6 separate regions of the Homo sapiens genome follow, and all the other regions are linked to region 3. The links are contacts of gene promoters, found by promoter capture Hi-C in blood cells and fetal thymus (Javierre and others, 2016). All regions are on one chromosome and are shown on one strand. The core of a region is centred on a gene start or on the middle of the fragment in contact, and the rest is flanking DNA. Distances in the headings are between cores, read along the strand shown.

Evidence for each region. Contacts are between HindIII fragments. The CHiCAGO score rates a contact against its expected background, and 5 or more counts as called.
Region 1: a contact is called between a fragment that was not itself captured here and the fragment with the promoter of SH3YL1 in region 3, in 9 of 17 cell types (naive CD8 T cells, megakaryocytes, total CD8 T cells and 6 more). The highest score is 8.8, in naive CD8 T cells.
Region 2: a contact is called between a fragment that was not itself captured here and the fragment with the promoter of SH3YL1 in region 3, in 14 of 17 cell types (total B cells, megakaryocytes, total CD8 T cells and 11 more). The highest score is 18.0, in total B cells.
Region 4: a fragment that was not itself captured here is called in contact with the fragment with the promoter of SH3YL1 in region 3 in 2 of 17 cell types (total CD8 T cells and naive B cells); the score reaches 5.6 in total CD8 T cells.
Region 5: a fragment that was not itself captured here is called in contact with the fragment with the promoter of SH3YL1 in region 3 in 1 of 17 cell types (naive B cells); the score reaches 5.0 in naive B cells.
Region 6: a contact is called between a fragment that was not itself captured here and the fragment with the promoter of SH3YL1 in region 3, in 3 of 17 cell types (fetal thymus, naive CD8 T cells and erythroblasts). The highest score is 6.8, in fetal thymus.

What each region holds. Positions count from the first base shown.
Region 1 is chr2:660,864-664,009 of GRCh38, forward strand. TMEM18 (transmembrane protein 18) reads right to left here. Exons shown (of 5, transcript NM_152834.4): 5 at 3,014-3,146. Among named protein-coding and RNA genes, the nearest start is that of TMEM18-DT, 15 kb to the right of the region's middle. RefSeq lists an enhancer at 1-321. The HindIII fragment of the contact is 8,201 bases long and covers 1-3,146 here.
Region 2 is chr2:636,373-639,914 of GRCh38, forward strand. No RefSeq gene overlaps it. Among named protein-coding and RNA genes, the nearest start is that of TMEM18-DT, 39 kb to the right of the region's middle. The HindIII fragment of the contact is 152 bases long and covers 2,062-2,213 here.
Region 3 is chr2:262,254-265,611 of GRCh38, forward strand. It overlaps SH3YL1 (SH3 and SYLF domain containing 1), which reads right to left and starts at 1,779. Exons shown (of 10, transcript NM_015677.4): 1 at 1,731-1,779. The coding sequence starts at 1,731. ACP1 (acid phosphatase 1) reads left to right here and starts at 2,694. Exons shown (of 6, transcript NM_004300.4): 1 at 2,694-2,754. The coding sequence starts at 2,712. RefSeq lists silencers at 1,675-2,254, 2,325-2,404 and an enhancer at 2,755-2,804. The HindIII fragment of the contact is 12,050 bases long and covers 153-3,358 here.
Region 4 is chr2:597,553-600,931 of GRCh38, forward strand. No RefSeq gene overlaps it. Among named protein-coding and RNA genes, the nearest start is that of LINC01875, 53 kb to the left of the region's middle. The HindIII fragment of the contact is 790 bases long and covers 1,123-1,912 here.
Region 5 is chr2:581,107-584,663 of GRCh38, forward strand. No RefSeq gene overlaps it. Among named protein-coding and RNA genes, the nearest start is that of LINC01875, 37 kb to the left of the region's middle. RefSeq lists an enhancer at 1,479-2,678. The HindIII fragment of the contact is 2,051 bases long and covers 828-2,878 here.
Region 6 is chr2:683,348-686,701 of GRCh38, forward strand. No RefSeq gene overlaps it. Among named protein-coding and RNA genes, the nearest start is that of TMEM18, 7.6 kb to the left of the region's middle. The HindIII fragment of the contact is 1,782 bases long and covers 915-2,696 here.

The DNA of each region.
Region 1 (3,146 bases), core at 274-2,773, 400 kb after region 3:
GGGCCTCGGTTGAGAGCAGGGGAACGAGGAGCGGGTCTCCCAGTCGGGCTTCTATCTAAGGACAGAGCTGCTGTGCACCGGCTCCCTGAACTGCTCCTGCTCCCTGCAGTGCTCCCACTCCCTGCTGTGCACCCGCTCCCTGCTGTGTACCCACTCCCTGCTGTGTACCCACTCCCTGAAGTGCACCCACTCCGTGCTGTGCACCCGCTCCCTGCTGTGTACCCGCTCTCTGCAGTGCTCCTGCTCCCTGCAGTGCTCCCGCTCCCTGCAGAGCTCCCCCTCCCTGCAGAGCTCCTGCTACCTGCTGTGCACCTGCTCATACAGTTCACCCACTCCCTGCAGTGCTCCCACTCCCTGCTGTGCTCCTGCTACCTGCTGTGCACCTACCTGAAGTGCTCCCACTCCTTTCAGTGCTCCTGCTCCCTGCAGCGCACCTGCTCCTTGTAGTGCTCCCGCTCCCTGCAGTGCACACGCTCCCTGAAGTGCTCCCGCTCCCTGCTGTGCTCCCGCTCCCTGCTGTGCACTCGCTGCCTGCAGTGCTCCCACTACCTGCAGTGCTCTCGCTACCTGCTGTGCACCCGGAGCTGCCGAGGCTGGGCCCTGGATGGTGCAGGTGGGCCTTGGGTGTAGAGTGCAGCCTCGCCCCCATTTCCCGTGGACGTTTCCAGCCGCCCGAGTCTTCTGAGACCACAGATAAGGTCAAGCGAAGGAGGGCGTATCACTTCAGCTTCCAACTTCTACTCTCTACTTAAAAGTAGTTCCTGAGGCCAGCAGCGCGTCAAGGGCCAGGGTGGGGCCCTTCATCCTTTCTCTTCGTGTGTCTGAGCCTCCCAGTGTCCAGCAGGCAGAAGTGGTGAGCTCCTCGGGCCTGCAGCATCTTGTGAGGCTCATCCCTATCATAGCACAGCCCCCACAGAGCAGCCTCTCAGTCCCTCCATTCTCATCATGTTACTTCACTGGATAGGTCTTCTTTAAAAAGCATTCGTGGGCCGGGCACGGGGGCTCACGCTTGTAATCCCAGCACTTTGGGAGGCCGAGATGGGTGGATCACCTGAGGTCAGGAGTTCGAGACCAGCCTGGCCCATATGGTGAAACCCAGACTCTATTAAAAATACTAAAAAATTAGCTGGGCGTGATGGCAGGTGCCTGTAATCCCAGTTACCCGGTAGGCTGAGGCAGTAGAATCGCTGAAACCCAGGAGGTGGAGGTTGTAGTGAGCCGAGATCATGCCACTGCACTCCAGCCAGGGCGACAGAGTGAGACTCCGTCTCAAAAAAAAAAAAAAAAAGCATTCCTGAAACTAGACCATGTAAATGCACTTATTCATTCACATCATCATCTGTGTGGGTGCAGGTGCAGCATGGGTGTTTTCTAATGTAACGGAAAAATGAAATCAGTGATGTCTCCAGGCGCCTACATGTGTGCACGTGTGCACACGTGAGAGTACACTGCTGCATGTATCGTGTGGGTATGTGCATGAGTGTGAGCTTACATGCACAAGTGAGAGTGTATATGTAAACCTGCACTGTGTACGTTGCGTTGTGACATGTGCGCATGTCTCTGTGTGTTCACGTGTGCACGTGTCTCTGTGTTCACATGTGTGCACATGTGACTCTGTGTGTTCACCTGTGTATGTATTTAGGTCTGTTTCTGGACAGTAAAAACTGACTTTACAACTGATTTGGGATGTGGTTAACCTCATTCAAATGAACACAGGAAACCGAAGCCCTGTGCTTCCCGGCTCATTCCCTTCAGCTCCGGGTGACGTTCCTCAATCAAAAATATTAGACTTCTCTTTCTGAATAAGTGACAGAAATTTTCCCCAAGCAGCCAAACAGGGGCCTCTGGCATGGTGCTGTGGTGCCCTCTGGAGGGTTAGTGGAAAAGATGTCTTTCTCAGACAGAACGGGGAACGAACTGGAAAAGCTCTGCAGAGCCAAGGAGGTATGCGGCCCCAGATCCTGACGTTCCCCTTTCACAGCTCAGGAGACCAACCTGTGCAGGATCCACGACTCTGGCCCCACGTCGGGCCGGGCATCTCTTTCACGCAGCAGCTACATGTCACATTTCCTTTTCTCTATTCTGGTCCTGGAGTGAGCAGCACAGGACGCATTCTGTATGCTCCACATCATTCTGGGGATCAGATCAGCACCACCGCATCGCCAGCCCCACCAAAGCCGTTAACAGACGTGCAGTTTAGGGAATCTAACACATATCTTTTGATCCTTACAGTGATCTTATAAATAACTATGTCGAGTATGCCTATATACCTTTCCTGAAGGGAAACTGAAATTCGAGGCCATCATCACCATGTCCAGTGAGAACCAAGGCTCTTATAAAATTGATCATGTTCTGTGGTCATCACAGGAAGTGTTTTCACTCGGAATCTATCGTCAGACATGTCAGTACCTCTCAAGAGTTCTCATGAACACATTTTTACAATGACCACGTATTAATGTGCAGAATTCCACAACAGCTTGCAGCTGTTACCCTGGAAAATCCACTAATTGCATACGTATTTCAATGTGCTGTCGACATAAAGGTGACGCCCTGTAGGATGGGGGTCATAAACCTGCCAGGACAATGGTGAAGACTTGGGAGGGTAAGAAATGAGAAAGCGCTGTGTGCCCTTGAAGCAGCCGGGAAACCCGCATCCACCCAGGCTGCACCTCCACTCCCAGGCTCCGCGCTGCTTCCGGTCTGTTGTTCTGCTCAGGACTGTGATTGCAGCGGGGAAGCCTCTCACTCACCCAAGAGCCCCGTGTGCGGCCTAGGGTTGGTGGGAGACACAAACCCATCCCAGCCCAACCTGAGGTCATCGGTTACAAAGGACAGTGGCAGGGAAGTCAAGGCCCCACAAATGTCCACTCAGTACTTTTCAGAACTTACATGCTTCTAATATGTGCCAGGTATGCTTTGAGAGACTCTTGGATGGACTTTCTTGTATTGTCAATATATAAGCTGTCTGAAATTTATTATTTGATTTGTCACATCAGTAACTTACAGAGAAGAATTTAAAGAGCAAAAAAGCCAACATGAGTAACTTTATTTATAAAGGTGTCACAGTTCTTGGCAAGTAAATCCATTCCTAGGTAAACCATGGCTTCTGGCTTCAAATTCACAATTCCTAAGGTCCCCCTTTTTTT
Region 2 (3,542 bases), core at 888-3,387, 370 kb after region 3:
GTGGGGTCTGCGCTGCTCCAGGCGCCCGGATTCACCGTCCAGCCGGGGCCCTGACCCCGGGTCCGTCCACGCGGCTGCGATGCTCGGTCATCCTGGCTCCGGCCCACCCCGGGGAGACAGGCCCCTCACCGGCCCCTCTGAGGAGCAGGGCCAACACGCCGCGGGCTCTGCCGGCCCCGCAGGCCTCGGGTTCCATCGCAGCAGCGTGGCCTGATGACTCCATTTTGTCGCTGCGGAGGAGCCGCACCGAGTCCACAGCGCCAGTGCGGGGGAGCCGCGCCGGGGAAGAGGGAGGAGGCGCGTCCACAGCAGCCTCGTGTCTCCACATGGGACGTTTCCTCGGCGGGGACCCGGCGCGCCCAGGGGCTCAGGCTCGCTCAGGCCTACGGAGGCGGGTGTATCCGCGTCCGGCCCGACTTGTGAGGAAACAGCACACGTGAAGCGAGCGGAGTCGGCGCAGCCTGGAACAGGGTGAATCCGCAGAGTCCTCGGCCGCGCATGGCGGCTCTGTCAGCTCCAGGGACACAGGGACCGTCCCCGGGCCCATCAGCGCAATCGGGAGGGCGTCCGTGTGCCCACAGGCCCAGCTACACCTCCACAAAGCTGGGAAAGACGAACACGGGCCACCCTCAGCCACCTGCCCGGACCGCTGCGAGGCCCACGGGAGGGAAGACGCGCCCTGGCACGCGGTGTGGTAACCGCCCTTGGACGCGGCGGCGCTTTGGGCGGGAAGAACCGCGAATTCCAGAACATTTGGGATCATTTGTTAAAAGAAAAATCCTCGGGCGCCACCTAGCGCTGACATGCTGCCTAACTCTTCTCAGCCCTCATTTTAGAGAACGGAAAATGAAGCCCAAGTTATTGACTATAAAATGGGAAAAAACTAAAACATTGCAATATGCAGATTGCATCACACATATTATCTTAGCAGGTTTTCTTGCACTTGCCTTGCAGATAAATAGGACATATCTAGGTGGTGCTGTGTCCAATAAAATAACACATCTGAACTCAGGTAAGGAAGGGTTCTCTCAACAGGGAGAGGTTCCAGCCAGGAGACCCCGAAGCGTCTCCCACTCAGGAAGACATGTGCTTCTCTGATATGAGAAGGAATGACCACCGCCAGAGCGACGCCCTATGGGGGAGGATGGGCGAGATGGTCAGCGGGAGGGGTCTTAGGCTGGGGTTAGCAGACGCTTGGAGAAGCAGGCCAGGGCTTGCTACTCCCTGTACGGAGCACTGGATGGCTCCGTCACTGTGGGTGTCTCGTCCACCGTGGTCAGTTACTTGTGAGACAAGAACAGGGAATTTGGAAGGTCTGAGCTTGGCCTGCCCGGGTAGAAAGAGGACCCCTGGGTCTCCTCTACGACCTGCGAGGAAGGTGATCTTCGCAGGGAACCATTTCTGGAACGTGGAGGGTGGAGCTTCTTGACCATCCTTTTGCAGGGCCTCGAAACTCAAGTGAAGTTCGGTGTCAGTAGAAACTCTGTGTTGCTTCTACGCATGGCTGGACACATGTGCTTCTAGCCTTGGCCACTTGATTCCTGGTTGTATAGGTTTTATGTGTACAGTCATGCATTGCTTAACGCTGGGGGTACATTCTGAGAAATGCATTGTTAGGCAATTTTGTCATTGTGCAAACATCAAAACATCATAGGGTATATGTGAACAGAGTCTAGAAGTTACAGCCTATGACACACCTCAGCCATAAGGTGTAGCCTCGTGCTCCTAGGCTACGAACCTGTACAGCAGATGGCTGTGCTGGAACTGCAGGGAGCTGTAACACAGTGGAGAGTGTGTATCTAAACATAGCTACACGTAGAAGAGGTGCAGTAAAAATATGGTATAAAAGATAAACATGGTGCACCTGTATAGGGCACTTACCACGAAAGGAGCTTGCAGGATGGAAGTTGTTGCTCTGGGTGTTGGTGAGTGAGTGGTGAGTGTCTGTGAAGGCCTAGACTCTCAGACATTTCTGTCCACTACTGTTGACTTTATATACACTGTACACTTAGGCAACACTCAGTTCATCGCAAATATTTCTCTTTTCTCAATAATAAATTAAGCTTAGCTTAACCTTAATGAAATAACTTTTTACTTTATAAACTTTTAAGTTTTTAATCTTTTTGACTCTTTGTAATAACACTTGGCTTAAAACACAAACACATTGTACAGATGTACAAAAATATTTTCTTTCTTTATATCCTTGTTCTATAAGCTTTTTTAATTTTATTTTTACTTTTACTTTTTTTAACCTTTTTTGTTAAAATCTGAGACACAAACACACACATTAACCTAGGCCTACACAGGGTCAGGATCGTCAACATCACTATCCTAACCCTAACCCTCCACATCTTGTTCCCTGGAAGGTCCTCAGGGGCAGTAACACACATGGCGCTGTCATCTCTAATGCCTTCTTCTGGAATCCTCCCCGAAGGGTCTGCCGCAGACTGTTTGACTGTTAACCAGTTTTTTTTTTTAAGTAGAAGGGGTACATTCTAAAATAATGCTAAAAATATAGTGTAGCAGCAGTCCCCAACCTTCTTGGAACCAGGGACTGGTTTTGTGGAAGACAGTTTTTCCATGGACCAGAGTTGAGGGGAATGGTTTCTGGATAAAACAGTTCCAGCTCAGATCATCAGGCATTAGATTCTCATAAGGAGTGCACAACCTAGATCCCTCTCATGCACTTTTCACAACAGGGCTCTCACTGGATTCTCCTGTGAGAATCCAGTGCCGCTGCTGATCTGACAGGAGGCAGAGCTCAGGCAGTGACACTCACTCACATGCCATTCACCTCCTGCTGTGCCACAGTTCCTAACAGGCCACAGGCTGGTACTGGTTTACGGCCTGGGGATTGGGAACCCCTGTAGAATAATAGATACATGAAAGAGCGACACAGTCATTTATTATTAATCATACTGTACATAGTTGTGTGTGCTACACTTTTATACAACTAGCAGTGCGACAGGTTTGTTTACACCAGCGTCAGCACCCACACGTAAGGAAAGTGTTGTATTGGGACCTTAGCATGGTTACAATGGCTGCATCTGTCCTGGGCAGCAGGGATTTTCAGTATATGCAGCCCATTCTTTACCGAAATGTTATGTGGCCCATGAACACATATGCGTATGTATAGATATGACGAACTGTCAGTAGGTGTGCACAAAATTAGGAACCTCTAATCTCCAGAGAAAACAATCCCTACTTTTGCTCAAAATAAAGAAGCACAGGTTAACTAAGACATTGACTTGATGGGGAAACCCTGGTTGTTCCTCTCAGTCTGGCAGTTCTAGGGTCTTGAATTAATGAGAACATCAACTGTGTGAGTTAACATTGTGAGTACACAGTCCTCAAATGGATGCCAGGAAGAACCCAAGAGCTCTGCCCTCTCTCCAGCATCCCCCGTGACTGTCTCACCCGTGGAGACACCGGGCTTGTATCTTTAATGTCTGCTGTATTAGCTGGAATCATTCCCAAGGTGCTGATTTTGTAGAATACAAACTGTAGAATATTGGCAGTCTCACCTGCAGAGAATCAAACGA
Region 3 (3,358 bases), core at 529-3,028:
TCAGTTCTCAAAATAAAAACCTGTCTCTCTGGTCAGATCATTAACTCCCTAGTCAAACTTTCAGACTACCGTCTGAACATCAAGTGCTAGCCTGAGCTTGTTTCCAGTCCCCCAACCCCAGGCTGTGGCTGGGGAAGGAAGAGGACAGCGAAAGCTTTCTCTGCTCCCTCGGGAGACAGGAAAGCCCTTTATTTATTCCTGCCCTTCCTCTTCTCCAACTGAAGAGTGTGATCTTGGTACAGAGCAGTTCCACACATGCCACACTGGTCTGATCTTTTAGAGTAAAAAATGGGATCTTCTCAGAGAAAATTTTTTTAAAAACTTCATGTGCTTAGGTCTCAGAGCAGAGAATTTTGTCTTATCATGACGCCACTCACTGGCAAACAAGCTGGCGTGCACAGGGACTTGTGAGGCTCTCAGCAGAGTCAGGGTAGCAGTTATTTCCCTTTGACTGCCTCAACTTCCTATGTTTGTGTTGACATGCCAGATCCTTATTTCTGCGGAATGAGAAATCTCTTGAGAATAAAGTTTTCCTAAACAGAACAAAAGTATCAAATCACTTTTGATGAGCAAACATTATTTTAAACTTTTTTTTAACTTACAAAAGATGAGGGGTAACATTTACTAGTTTTACAGAAATTTTCTTTAAACAGAACATTAGTGAACCAAATAACCAATTCTCCTCAAACATGATAGACAGGATGGAGGTTATCACTTTGATCATTTTAACCTCCAACATAGTAATTTGTAAACATCAGTCGCTGCACAAGTATTTTAATAACAGGCCAGCCCACGGGAGTAAACAGCACCTTAGCCTCGAGACCTGTTCTCTCAACTGTGTGTACAGATTTTCTAAGTCGTTATGAATTCAGATATTCCCTACATCTCAATAAAAACACCTAGGAGAACAAGAAATCAGGACATGCATCTCCTGTAAGCAGAAGAGAAACCGAGCACCTGCTCTCTTGCGGGGGGGCAGCTTCGTGTCACTTTCCAACTCAGCCTCCACAGGAGCATGGGCATATTGGTTCAAATGAAGTGTAAAGGACACATCTCTGTCCACAGTGTAAATCCTATTTCCTTAAGGTGGTCAACCGATTGAGACCAGTTCCACACTTCCTTAAAGAAGGAAAAACTCAGCAGCCAGCGCCAAGGCCCAGCGATCAGAGAGGACCCGTGCTCGCCGCGACCCCGCGCTCGCCCTGTGGCCCCGCGACCCCGGCGCCAGGTGTTGGGGGGACCGGCCCTTCCCTTCCGGGTGTGAGGGGCTGGCCCTTCTCTTCCAGGTTGGGGGGCTGGCAAACTCGAACCTCGCCGGCGCCCTAGCCAAGGCCTCCTCCCCGCGCCTGCCGCGGGTTCCACGCACATTCCAAGCGCGCGCATTCGACCCAAACTTCAGAGACGCTTCTGTGGAACGGAAGGATGGTCGCTGACACCTCGCCGTTCAAATATCAGGAAGTTAAAAATAACACGACCATCGTCATCATTCCAAACTTCGGAATAGCTTTTCTAAAAATGGAAAAGACGGTGGCTAAACTTCAATCAAAATCGCTGTGGTCAAGAAAGTCCTGGAAGCTGCTCTATCTTAACTTTGGGCGGTTTGCGGTTAACAGACGCGCGACCTAGAAACCCCAGAGGCATCGCCGGTTTTCCCGTCCTCCTCCTCCCACCACCGCCCAGCTCTTGAGAGGGGAGGGTGCTGCCGGACAGGTGGGTCCCCGGGTACTCACTGCTGCCCGCCCGGCCGCGGCGCCCCGTCCCGAGGCTGCCCAGGAAGAGGAAGGCGCGCTGCCCCGCCCCGCGGACAAGGAGGCCCCAGCGAGGGCGTACCTGCGGCAGGTGACGAAGGAGGCGGCGCAAAACACCCGCCGTGTACGTTTCGCGGGACAAAAACCACGCGCCCGCCGGGCCGCGCTCAGGCCTTCGCCCTCAGGGACTTCGGAACCGCCCCGTCCTCAAGATCGAAAAGCCCAGAGCCCCGCGGCGGCTCCAAGCACGGTGTTGGGGGTGGGGGTCTCAGGGAGCGCCCAGGCCCAAGGCCGCCCTGGTCCGGCGTGGACCCCGCGGGGCTCAAGGCAGGTTCCCCGCGTGACCCGCCCAGCCCCTCTATGCGAACTCGAACGACAGGCACCACAGCCCGCCACGTGCGCGAGACTCGCGCTGTGCCCCAACCCAGGTGGGCGGCCCGCGGAGCCGCGAGGCCTGAGCCCGCCCTGCAGGTGACCCGCGGCCCTTCCTCCTCCAGGTACCCCTCTCCTGCGGCCCCGTCCCCTATAGGTAACCTTTACCTCCCGCGGCTCCTTCCCCTCCAAGCGACCCGCAGCCCCGCCCCCTCCAGGTGACTCCCCCCCGCCAACCCCCGCCACCACACACACACACCCCCTCGCCTTCCGCGGCCCTACTCCCTCCAGGTGACCCCACCCCCGCAGCTCCTCCTCCTCCGGACAACCTGCAGCCCCGCCCCTGCAGGTGAACGGCGGCCCAGTCCCTGCAGGTGACCCGCGGACCCTCCCCGCCCGTCCTACTACCGTCATAGGACCGCCTCCGCAGGCGCACTGGAGCCGATTGCGCAGGCGTGGCTCTCACACGCGCTGCCCTGTTGGCGTTGGTGCGGGACTGCGCAGGCGCGCGGGGCAAGAGGGTGGCAGTGCGCCTGCGCCGCGTCGGCGTGCGGAACGCCGCGGTGTCTCGGCGCCTCTGCGCGCGGGAAGATGGCGGAACAGGCTACCAAGTCCGTGCTGTTTGTGTGTCTGGGTAAGAGGGCGCCGACTTACTCATGTTCTGACGTCCTCTGGAGAGTTGGATCGGGCTTGTGCGCTGTAGGTTGTGCCGCCGGCCTAGGAACCATGAGGGGGAGGAGGCCAGGGACTGGGAGGCCTAGGGTGTTCTAGGAGTGTGCCGCAGCGCCCCTGTTCCCCATCCGCCCCGTGCACCCGCCCAGCCTGCCCGCTAAACCTGGGTCCCCTCGCGCCTGCCATATATCCGGGGCTCTTGGCATCTGCAGCCACAGCCCCTACAAGCCAAGGTACTTTCTTTGCGACTACTAGAATCCCTCTCGTTCCCCTCCAATGGGCCCAGGTAGGCCTGGAGGTTGTCGGACTGATGTGGTCTCTTAGGGGCCTCCTGAGTCCTATGACAACATTGTTTTGTTTGCTAGTTTCCTTAGCCCATGCTTAGATAGGGATCTGAGTTAAAGGGAGATGAAGTTTTACGGTTTCGGGTTTCTTGATTGTAAAAGCCAAGCAAAGGAGACCTGGAGGTCCCTATATAACTTTGGCCCATGAAAAATGAAAGTGTATTTTATTAATGGCTTTTCAGGAACTTTCCAGCTTAAATTATTTTCACTCCTAGAATTTCA
Region 4 (3,379 bases), core at 268-2,767, 340 kb after region 3:
AACCCGCAGCCTTTCTGAACGCTTGCGGGAGTTTCCTTGCCTTTCGGGCCACTGTATTGTAGCAGGACAAGCCGCAGACAAAACTCCTCAAACACCGGATTAAAGAAGGAAGAGGTTTTTATTCAGCCAGGAGCATTGGCAGACTTGAGTCTTAAGAGCTGAGCTCCCTGAAAAAGAAATTCTTGGCCTTTTTAAAGGCATACAACTTTAAGGGGTCCACGTGAAAGGGTCGTAGTACATCAAGCAAGCGTGGGAAACGTGACTGGGGGCTACAGGCATCAGCTAACAGAACAGAAAGTTTTACAATGCTTTTTTCATACAGTGTCTGGAATTTACACAAGTAGTTTAGGTCAGGGGTTGATGTTATTATTATCACTTTTTTTAACTCCTAGGGCCGGGTGGTGGTGCCAAGGTTATCTGGCTATTTATCTTACTTTTGTTTTTTTCCAACTTTTTGCTTTTTCTCTCTTCCTGTTTTGTGAACTAGGCAAGGTGGGGGGAAGGAGGGCATCAGGAGGAGTAGTGGTCTCCTTCCTTAGTGTGAGGAAAAACACTCATGACCCTAAGTGTCGCAAACTGCAGAAGAGGCAAGATGGTAGCCTGCCACTCCCTGTCAAATGCTTGTTGCCCTCTTCTGGGCCAGCCTCGTCCACCCAGCCCGCGATGCCCTCTGAGACAGCCCAGCCACCGCACCGCCCGCCCTCGGGTGATTCAGGACTAATCAGAGCATCAGGATGCTGGGCACGCCGTTAGCCGGGGCGATTCAGAGTCATCTGCTGTGGAGTGGGGCTCAGAGTGAGGGATGTGGTCACTCACGCCATGTTGATGATTCAAGCTCTTCTCTGTCAACTCAATGCCTGTGGAGTAGAAGGAAGTACATCTGTTTATCTCTTGGCCAAAAGAGCAAGTTAATACATTTTTTAAAACTTTGACATTTCATCTTAAAGCAACAGTGGGCCTTGTTTAACTAGAATCTCATTTCTGCAGCCTGATTTTGCTGGAGAGACTCCCAACACAGGCAAGCCCCGGGAGGACAGAGATCAGCAGGGGTGCTGGCGCCAGATGCCTTTGTTCCTCAGCCTTCATCCCACTCAGTTACAAAATTACATGAGAGGCTAGATAAGCTTATTCCCTAGCCCTTTTTTAAGGTTCAAATGTTACTACATTTTATAAGAAAATACAGTTTTTGAATCAACCCTCGGAGGCTCCAGCCTTCAGGAGACACTGGTGAGTACCGCCATGCCTCTGGCCTCAAAGCGTGGTTTGCAAACTGGTTTGTTCTTTGCAGGATAAAACCGCACTGGTGGCCACGGGTGCCCTGGTTAGCAGAGTCGATGGGATTTTCTCTGGCTTTCGCCTTGTGGGCATCATTAGCACCCTGGAGTCACTTGCAGGCCTCTGTGCAGATGTCCTGCCGAGGGGCTTCAGGCTGTAAAAGTGAACCAGTGGACACAGGACCTGCCTGGACTCCCAGCCTCACAGAGCAGAACCACAGCCCAGACTGCCCTCTGCCCAATACACACTTGTTTTGGAACTTTAATCCATCAAAGCATCCAAATAAAAAATATGTAGACTCCCCACCCTATCCCATCTGCCTTTGTGTCCTAATTCCCAAATAGACATCCCATCACAGTGGTTTTCTCTGTGACGGGGACTCCTGCATTGGACTCCATCCCTCCCTTGCTGGAAAAGCACAGGTGCTGTGGCGTGAGATCAACCAACTTACTTCAATTTGCTGATCTTGGGGTAATAATTCTAAAATAGGGGAACAATACCCCTGTCAGTGTACTTGGGAGAACCTCCCCATTTCTTGAGGCCCCAGAAATGCAAACACTCCTGTTTTTGTTGTCAACTCTGGTGTCAGAGCTGTTCACGCCATGGGCACTGGTCATCGACTTACCGTGGATAGTCAAGCTTTTAAGTCCCAGGAATAAAGGGTTCCTACTTCTTTAAGCTGTGTTTATTTTACACTGTTGCTGGTATACTCGGTGGGTACTTAGTGAGGATGAGGAAAAAGTGTCAGAGAGTGATTTCCAATAAGATGGAAAATGATCCGCAGTTTCTCCTCCCTTAACCAGCACATGACGTCTGCCCTGTGGCATCAGATAGTGGAGGCAGTGGCGCTCCGTGTGGGGCCTCCTGGCTGAAGGAGGTGACAACAGTTTGTCCTGTCTTCCTAGACGCTGTGTGCACCTCGCCCCGCTGGTGATTTACTTGAGAGGAACCCATGTGTGGGGTAGGGAGTGTTGCCTTTGGCTTCTACCCAGGTCCTGCTGTGGACTCTGCCTCTTACCAGGGGTGACTTGTGTGAGCTGGGACCTCTTCACCCAGAGGAGAGGGAAGAGGGTCCCCCTCACCTGGCGGCTGTGAGGGCCCAGTCCCCCCAGATTCAGGCACTTCACAGTTAACACAGTGAAGATTCAAGATGATAGAGACTTCCATTGGCTCATCGGAGTGCAGCACTCCCAGACATCAGCTCCATTCAGAGACAGCTGCTCCGCTGAGCGCTGCTGTTTGCTGGGGGTCGTGAATACCCTAAATCTCCATAGGTTGCCAGCTTGAGTCAGGAGTAGAGATATTTATGTGCATGAGTAATAAATAGCGACTTTTGTGAAAGTTAAAATGAAAGAAAATGAAACGAAGGAAAAGACAACTTGAATATACAAAGGTCTTCAAACACAGGATTCGCTTTTTCACTTTCAGTCCTTTTTTGTTGGTCACGAGGCCTATGGAGGTATTAACATGTAACTTCGTTCTTCAGGCTCCGCCAGTCCCTCTCTTACCTTGCAGGGGATTTAGGAATTTGCAGGCGGCAAACTTCTAAGAGCTAGAATTCTTGACCCTGCCTGGGAGAATCACGGTGATTCTGCAACTGCAGGCTCCTGCCTTTCAGAGTAGGCATTTTAAATTCTGTCACTGCCACACTTGCAGTGGTGTCGTTTGTCATTTTACCTGATGGAAAAATTATTTGTGTAAAACTGACATAAAGGTTCTGATCTTTCAACACTCACGCTTCCCATGCGGAACAGCGGGGCTCCACTCTGTCCCCAGACTTCAAAAGGGGAGGCAAGAGGTGAGGCCCGGTCTGACTCTCCAGGTGCTCCTGGGGACTGTCCAGAGGCCACTCAGGTCCCAGACGAGCAGCGTCTCACAAGACCAACCTGTCTTGTGGCACAACCTGCCGGCCACAGAGGCCGCTGCCAGAGCCATTGTCCCAGACAGTCTCAGACAGCCCCAGACAGCACGCCGCCTCGCCAGTCCAGGGAATGCTCTCTTTGCCACAACGTGTGGTCGAGGGACTTCATGGAGAATGTTCTTGTGGATGTCAGGAGCTTCTTAGGGTTCTTTAATAATAAACCCCGTGAGAAGCAGGCCCTGA
Region 5 (3,557 bases), core at 603-3,102, 320 kb after region 3:
TATATCAGTTGACTTGGGTTTCAAAGTTGTGGATGAGTTAAAAAAAAAACAGATTTGGGAGACGTACAATAGAATCCCATTTGTATTAATGGGATTTTTAATAATGGCTAAGGTAAATGTGAATTTAAATATTTATGCTTGTGTTTGCATATTATCATATGGCCATGGAGAAAAATACGTGGAAGTCTACATGCCAGGTTTCTATCTGGAGGAGGGAGTGGGAGAGGAGGCGGCAAGGAGAAAAAAGGTTATTGAAAATGGAAAAGAGAAAAAAAATAAGAGAAAAATAAGGAATGCACCCCTAACAAGGTAATTTACATATTTATATGATTGCATTTATGGGTATAAGCATAAAGCATTATTAAAGAAAAATAAAAGTGAATGCTTATTTCTGGAGAGCTCTGTAATTTGTCAGGCAAGTTTCCTGGGCCTAGACACACAGTCAAAGGCAGTCAGTGAGGAAAGGGCAGCTAAGCCAGCCCTGAGGGTGGGTAAGGGCCAGGATCTCAGCTGGTGCACACAGCCGGGAGTGTGGTGCTGATGAAACATTGTTGGGAAGTTTAAGGATTGTGAGCCGACGGTTGTGCAGAGGCATCCGGCCTCCATCGTAAGATGCCAGACTCGGGCCATTGATTTGGCAAGAAATTCCCAAGATCTGACCAGAGTGCCTGTGTCTGTGTGGAGAGACCTCTGTGTCCATCTGCAGCCCTCTGTGGAGGGTGTAGTCCGGGCCAGCATGACTCCTGTGAGCCTCGGCCTCCACACTGACAAACAGGAGTGTGGTCTGAGACAAGGTTCCAGATCCCTTCCCTGTCCAGAGCTCCTAAAGCTTCCCCTTCTATTCAGATGTTTCTCTAATTAGAATAAAACTCTATTTTAATTGCATTATATAAGCAGAAAAACCTTGAGAACAGTTAGAAAACATTGATGAAAATGACATAAAGGTGCCCTGGGGCTGTGACGAGAAATTGGCTCATTGTATCTGGAAATGAAAGAAGAACAGGGACATTTAGAAAGGAAAAGTTCTGTCCTTAATTGAAATAAATTCTGTACTGCAAGTAGTATTAGAAGGTAATCATTTACATAAATAATAGTTAATGCTAGCAAACAGTGAAATGTAATTAGGGCAGAGAGACGCTGAGGCTCATTAGAAAGAACAACAACGCTGAGCTGTGAGCCGGAGGAGGCAGCCGGGTTCTGATGGAAGCTGCCTCGACCACCAGAACAACACCGCAAGCGTCCAGCAGCAGTAAGGGGCACAAGCTGCCTCGACCACCAGGCCAATGCCACCAGCGTCCAGCAGCAGCGAGGGGCACAAGCTGCCTCGACCACCAGAACAATGCCGCCAGCGTCCAGCAGCAGTGAGGGGCACAAGCTGCCTCGACCACCAGAACAACGCCGCCAGCGTCCAGCAGCAGTGAGGGGCACAAGCTGCCTCGACCACCAGAACAATGCCGCCAGCGTCCAGCAGCAACGAGGGGCACAAGCTGCCTCGACCACCAGAACAACACCGCAAGCGTCCAGCAGCAGCGAGGGGCACGGAGAGCAGGCAGTGCAGAAGTCAAACCCCTAACAGCCACAGGAAACTCAGGGCAAACGGAAGCGTTTCCATTCTCCAGCCCTTCTTTCAATATTCTTAACATGAGCAATCCATGAGCCCTCATTTTGCAGCCCACAGAACCTCAGCCAGCGTGTGAGGAAGAAGCTCCAGGCGGCGGCAGCCAGCGTGTGAGGAAGAAGCTCCACGCGGCGGCCAGTGTGTGAGGAAGAAGCTCCACGCGGCGGCGGCCAGTGTGTAAGAAAGAAGCTCCACGCAGCGGCCAGCGTGTGAGGAAGAAGCTCCACGCAGCGGCCAGCGTGTGAGGAAGAAGCTCCAGGCGGCGGCGGCCAGCGTGTGAGGAAGAAGCTCCACGCGGCGGCCAGTGTGTGAGAAAAGCTCCACGCAGCGGCCAGCGTGTGAGGAAGAAGCTCCAGGCGGCGGCCGCCAGCGTGTGAGGAAGAAGCTCCACGCGGCGCTTGCTCAGGGAATCCTGCTCCAGGGCGTGCTCACTTGCTGTTATTGTGTTTTATTTTTCCTGAGACTGTAAATGGAGCGGATAGAAGTTCAGAACCATCGGTCCCTCTTCTTCCTGGGTCATCCTGAGCTCGGCAGTGAGAGCACCTACGACTAGGGAGCGGCCGAGCAGAGGGAACAAGGCCGTGCCCGCTAAGGTTCTCCCGGGACGGTGGCGAGCCCACGCTTGCCAGGCATGACGCCTCGACCTCCAGCGTCCAGAGCGTCCCTTCATTGGTTCACAGGAACTTTTCACATGTGTCCGTCCACTTTTCTTAGGAATATTTATTTAGGTGAGGTTATTCATTCTGACACTGGAAGAAAAGTGCAAAACCTCGTGTGGACTTCGTAGGTGGAGCATTTGAGTTATCATCGGAAAACTAGAGCCCGGACTGTATGAGGAAGGTAATTCATGTTTACAACTGATTATTGCTTTGGGTGATTTTCTCTAATGCAATAATAAAAATAGTAGAAAGAAACTTTTCAACTGTGAAACCCAAACTTAATATTACTATATCATTATTATCAGTCTTTAAACACCTATTTCAGACAAGTTTTTTAAAATATAAAGACAAGACCTAATAAGAGGTGTGAGTTTTACAAATATACCAGAAAAGTGTGTGCCTGAATAAGTGTTGACCCCTCAGAGTGACCCCTGCTGGTCGCAGGGAACCTGTTCCCATCACGTCCCCACTCACCCACAAGGCAGCGGCGCCTCCTCGGTGGTCCTGGCGCCCATGACGCGTTGCTGGGAAAATCTCCCACCCGGACGTTAACTGTGGGCTTCACTTACTTTCAGTTCCTGGGGGAAGGCTCGACAGAGCAAGCTTTAGTCCCCCTCAAAAAAGAAATGGTGTAAAATCAGTGAAAGCCGTCTGCTTTTGTGTTTGGCGAGCAGGAAGTCACAGAGGGAGGCCCCGTCTGTGTTAGGTCAGGCTTCATTTCTTCATTTGTTAACAAATCCTTCTTAGTGGCCCCTACAGCCGGTCTTGAAACTGGCCACTGAGATAAGAGGTCGTCTTCCCATCGAGTACTCTGAAAAATGCCCCCTTGGCCTTTAAGATGAGGCATTGAGTATTTGCTCAAAAGATGGTGTTTTCTTCATCATGTCACTTCAGACATACACCTATATATAAATGCATGTGTATATATGTATATATAAAATAGTATTCTCCTAAATTCCAAATCACATTACTTCTGATTAAAGATTATTGGAAGCCACATGCAATTCTAAAGATAAAAATAAGCAGGAGAGAAATTACTACTGACCATAGTGCCTAGTCTAATGAGTAGAGGTAGGTTGTTTATTCAGAGTTATTTAAACAAAACGGAAGCACCATACAGCAGCTTTTCCATGTCTTTCGGGCTTTATCGTGTAAAATGCCCTGGGCTCTGATTTTTAACGTGGTCTGCATCAACTTGTAAGTGTTTTGGTCTACATATGGGTGTGTGGAACAGAAATTCACGTTCTTGAATATTGTTTTAAAAGTAGACATATTACTAT
Region 6 (3,354 bases), core at 556-3,055, 420 kb after region 3:
TCATTCTTACTGAATTAAAAGACCCAGGCTACCCTGCTGGGTATGGTTTACCTTGTGTTCACTTAGGTGTACCTGCTATTCTCCTGGCATCACAGAGAGACAAAAGTCCCCAGGATGGATGGTACAAGTATGAAACGCCTGCTTGAGATGAGAAGCCAAAATCAGGGGATTATTCCTGAGGCTTTAATATGCAGATTGGTCTTTGGAGTTCATTGATTGTTAGGGCAGTTTCTCTGACATAAAAATTAATCTTCAGAAATTTACACACTCATAGAGAATGAAGCTGGCAGGATTTAGCCTGCCCAGTGTACATTTCTCATTGGTGCAAATTCACATCTTGACATATGTTGATAAGTTTAGGCTGATGTGTCTTGTAATGATGTTGGTATTCAGGGAAGTTTATGCCAATCTTCACGTGAAGTGGTCCTTCCTTAGGAATTGCTGTGGTTCTCTGACTTTCTGCACTACTGTATGACTTCCTGGGCCACCATAATGAGACACTACAGCCTGGGCAGCTTGAACAGCAGAAACTTATTTCTTTACAGTTCTGGAGGCCAAAAGTCTAACATTATTAAGACATTGACAGGTTGGTTCTTTCTGAGGCCTTTCCCTTTGGCTTGCAGACACATCTCCCCATGTGCACACAGGGTCATCCTCCTGTGTGTGTCTTTGTCCTGATCTTCTCTTCTTATAAGGACTCCAGTCAGGTAGGATCGAGGCCCACCCTTATATGCTCATTTAACTCACTTTCCTTTCAAAGGCCTCGTCTCCAATCACTGCAGCCTTCTGAGATGCGGGGTTTGGACCTGACATATAAATTTGGGGACACAAGTTGGCCCACAACACCACCAAGGGTACCACTGAGCACAGACAGAACTTGGTTCTCTTTCCATTTTCTTCTCTCAAATTTTATAAGCTTGTGGAATATCAAAAAGAAAATGGACCTTAGATCAGGGAAGATTTTATGTGAATATGAGTTCTCACTTGGAATGACCTTAGAATACTGTTTTTTGATTATCAAAGCCTCAGCTTGCCTTTGTGAGAATAAGGACAATAATACTTTTCTAATGTGTGGTTTTAAGGATTTGGGATGAAATGCCTTAAATGCCCAGCTCTGTGCCAGGCACATGGCACATGCCTAATAAAGACCAACCATTAGGACTCGAATGTTGTTGCCTCCTCTAAAGATGAAGGTGTTTATCTTGCTGTCCTCAGGGGGTCCTCTTTTTATCTCTTTTCTTTTTAGTTCATGAGACCAACACTGTTTATTTACAAATATTTTCTGCACATGTTGATGTAATGTAAATGGAAAACACAGTGCTGCTTCCTTTATTTTTTGGATGGTGATATGGTTTGGCTTTGTGTTCTCACCCAAATCTCATGTCAAATTGTAATCCCCACATGTCAGGGGAGGAGCCTGGTGGGAAGCGATGTGATCATGGGGGAGGATTTCCTCCATGGTGGTCTCGTGAGCTCTCATGAATTCTGATGGCTTAAAAGTGTGGCACTTCCCACCTCACTCTCTCTCTTTCTCCTGCTGCCATGTAAGTAAGACATACCTTGCTTCCTCTTCACCTTCCACCATGATTGTAAGTTTCCTGAGGTCTCCCTAGCCATGCAGAACTATGAGTCAATTAAACCTCTTTTCTTTATAAATTACCCAGTCTCAGGTAGTTTTTTATATAAAAGAGTGAAAAAAAAAACTAATACAGAAAATTCGTACCAGAAGTGGGGTACTGTTATAGATACCTGAAAACATTGAAGCAGCGTTGGAACTGGGTTACAGGCAGAGGTTTGGAGGGCTCAGAAAAAGACAGATAGATGTGGGAAAGTTTGGAACTTCCCAGAAACTTGTTGAAGATGGTTTTGACCAAAATGCTGATAGTGATATGGACAATGAAGTCCAGGCTGAGGTGATCTCAGATGGAGAAAAGGAACTTACATGGAACTGGAGTAAAGGTCACTCTTGCTATGCTTTAGCAAAGAGACTGGTGACATTTTGCCCCTGCCCTAGAGATCTGTGGAACTTTGAACTTGAGGGAGATGATTTAGGGTATCTGGCAGAAGAGATTTCTAAACAGCAAAGTGTTCAAGATGTGACCTGGATGTTTCTAATGCATATAGTCATATACATTAGAGACAAGAGAACATCTAAAATTGGAACTTATGTTTAAAAGGGAAGCAGAGCATTTGAAAAATTTGCAGCCTGACACTATGTGGTAGAAAAGAAAAACCCATTTTCTGGGGAGAATTTCAAGCTGCCACGTTCAGAAATTTGCATATGTAATGAGGAACCAAAAGTTAACAGTCAAAACAGTGGGGAAAATGTCTCCAGGACCTGTTGGAGACCTTTACAGCAGGCCCTCCCATCACAGGCCCAGAGACCTGGGAGGAAAAAGTGTTTTTGTGGGCCAAGTGCAGGGCACAGATGCTCTGTGCAGCCTCAGGACATGGTGCCCAGTATCCCAGCCACTCCAGCTCCAGCCATGACTAAAAGGGGCCAAGGTACAACTTGGGACATGGCTTCAGAGGGTGCAAGCCCAAGCCTTGGCATCTTCCACATGCTGTAGGGCCTGCCGGTGTGCAGAAGGCAAGAATTGAGGTTTAGGAACCTACTGCTAGATTTCAGAGGATGAATGGAAACACCTGGATGTCCAGGCAGAAGGTTTTCTGCAGGGGTGGGGCCCTCATGGAGAAGCTTTGCTAGGTCAGTGCAGAAGGGAAATGTGCGTTTGGAGCCCCCACACAGAGTCCCTGCCCAGTGGCACTGTGAGAAGAGGGCCACCATAGGTATGGTGGCCACCATCCTCCAGATCCCAGAATGGCAGATCCACTGACAGCTTGCACTGTCAATTAAAGCTGTTTTGTTTTGTTTTTTTTATAAATTACCCAGTCTTGAGCAGTTCTTTATAGCAGCATGAGAGTGCACTGACAGTGCACCTGTAAACACTGCAGGCACTCAGTGCCAGTCCTTGAGAGCAGCTGTGGGGGCTGAACCCTGCAAAACATGAGGTGGAGCTACTCAAGGCCTTGGAAGCCCACCTCTTGTGTCAGCATGCCCTCAATGTGAGACATGGAACCAAACGAGACTATTTTGCAGCTTTAAGATTTAATGACAGCCCTGCTGGATTTTGGACTTGCATGGGGGCCTGTAGCCCCTTCATTTTGGCCAATTTATCCCATTTGGAATGGAAGCCTTTACTTTGCCTGTACCCCCATTGTATCTTGAAAGTAACTAACTTGTTTTTGATTTTATAGGTTCATAGTCAGAAAGGAATTGCCTGGCTTCAGATGAGACTTTGGACTTGGAATTCTGAGTTCATGATGGAATTAGTTAAGATTTTGGGGGACTGT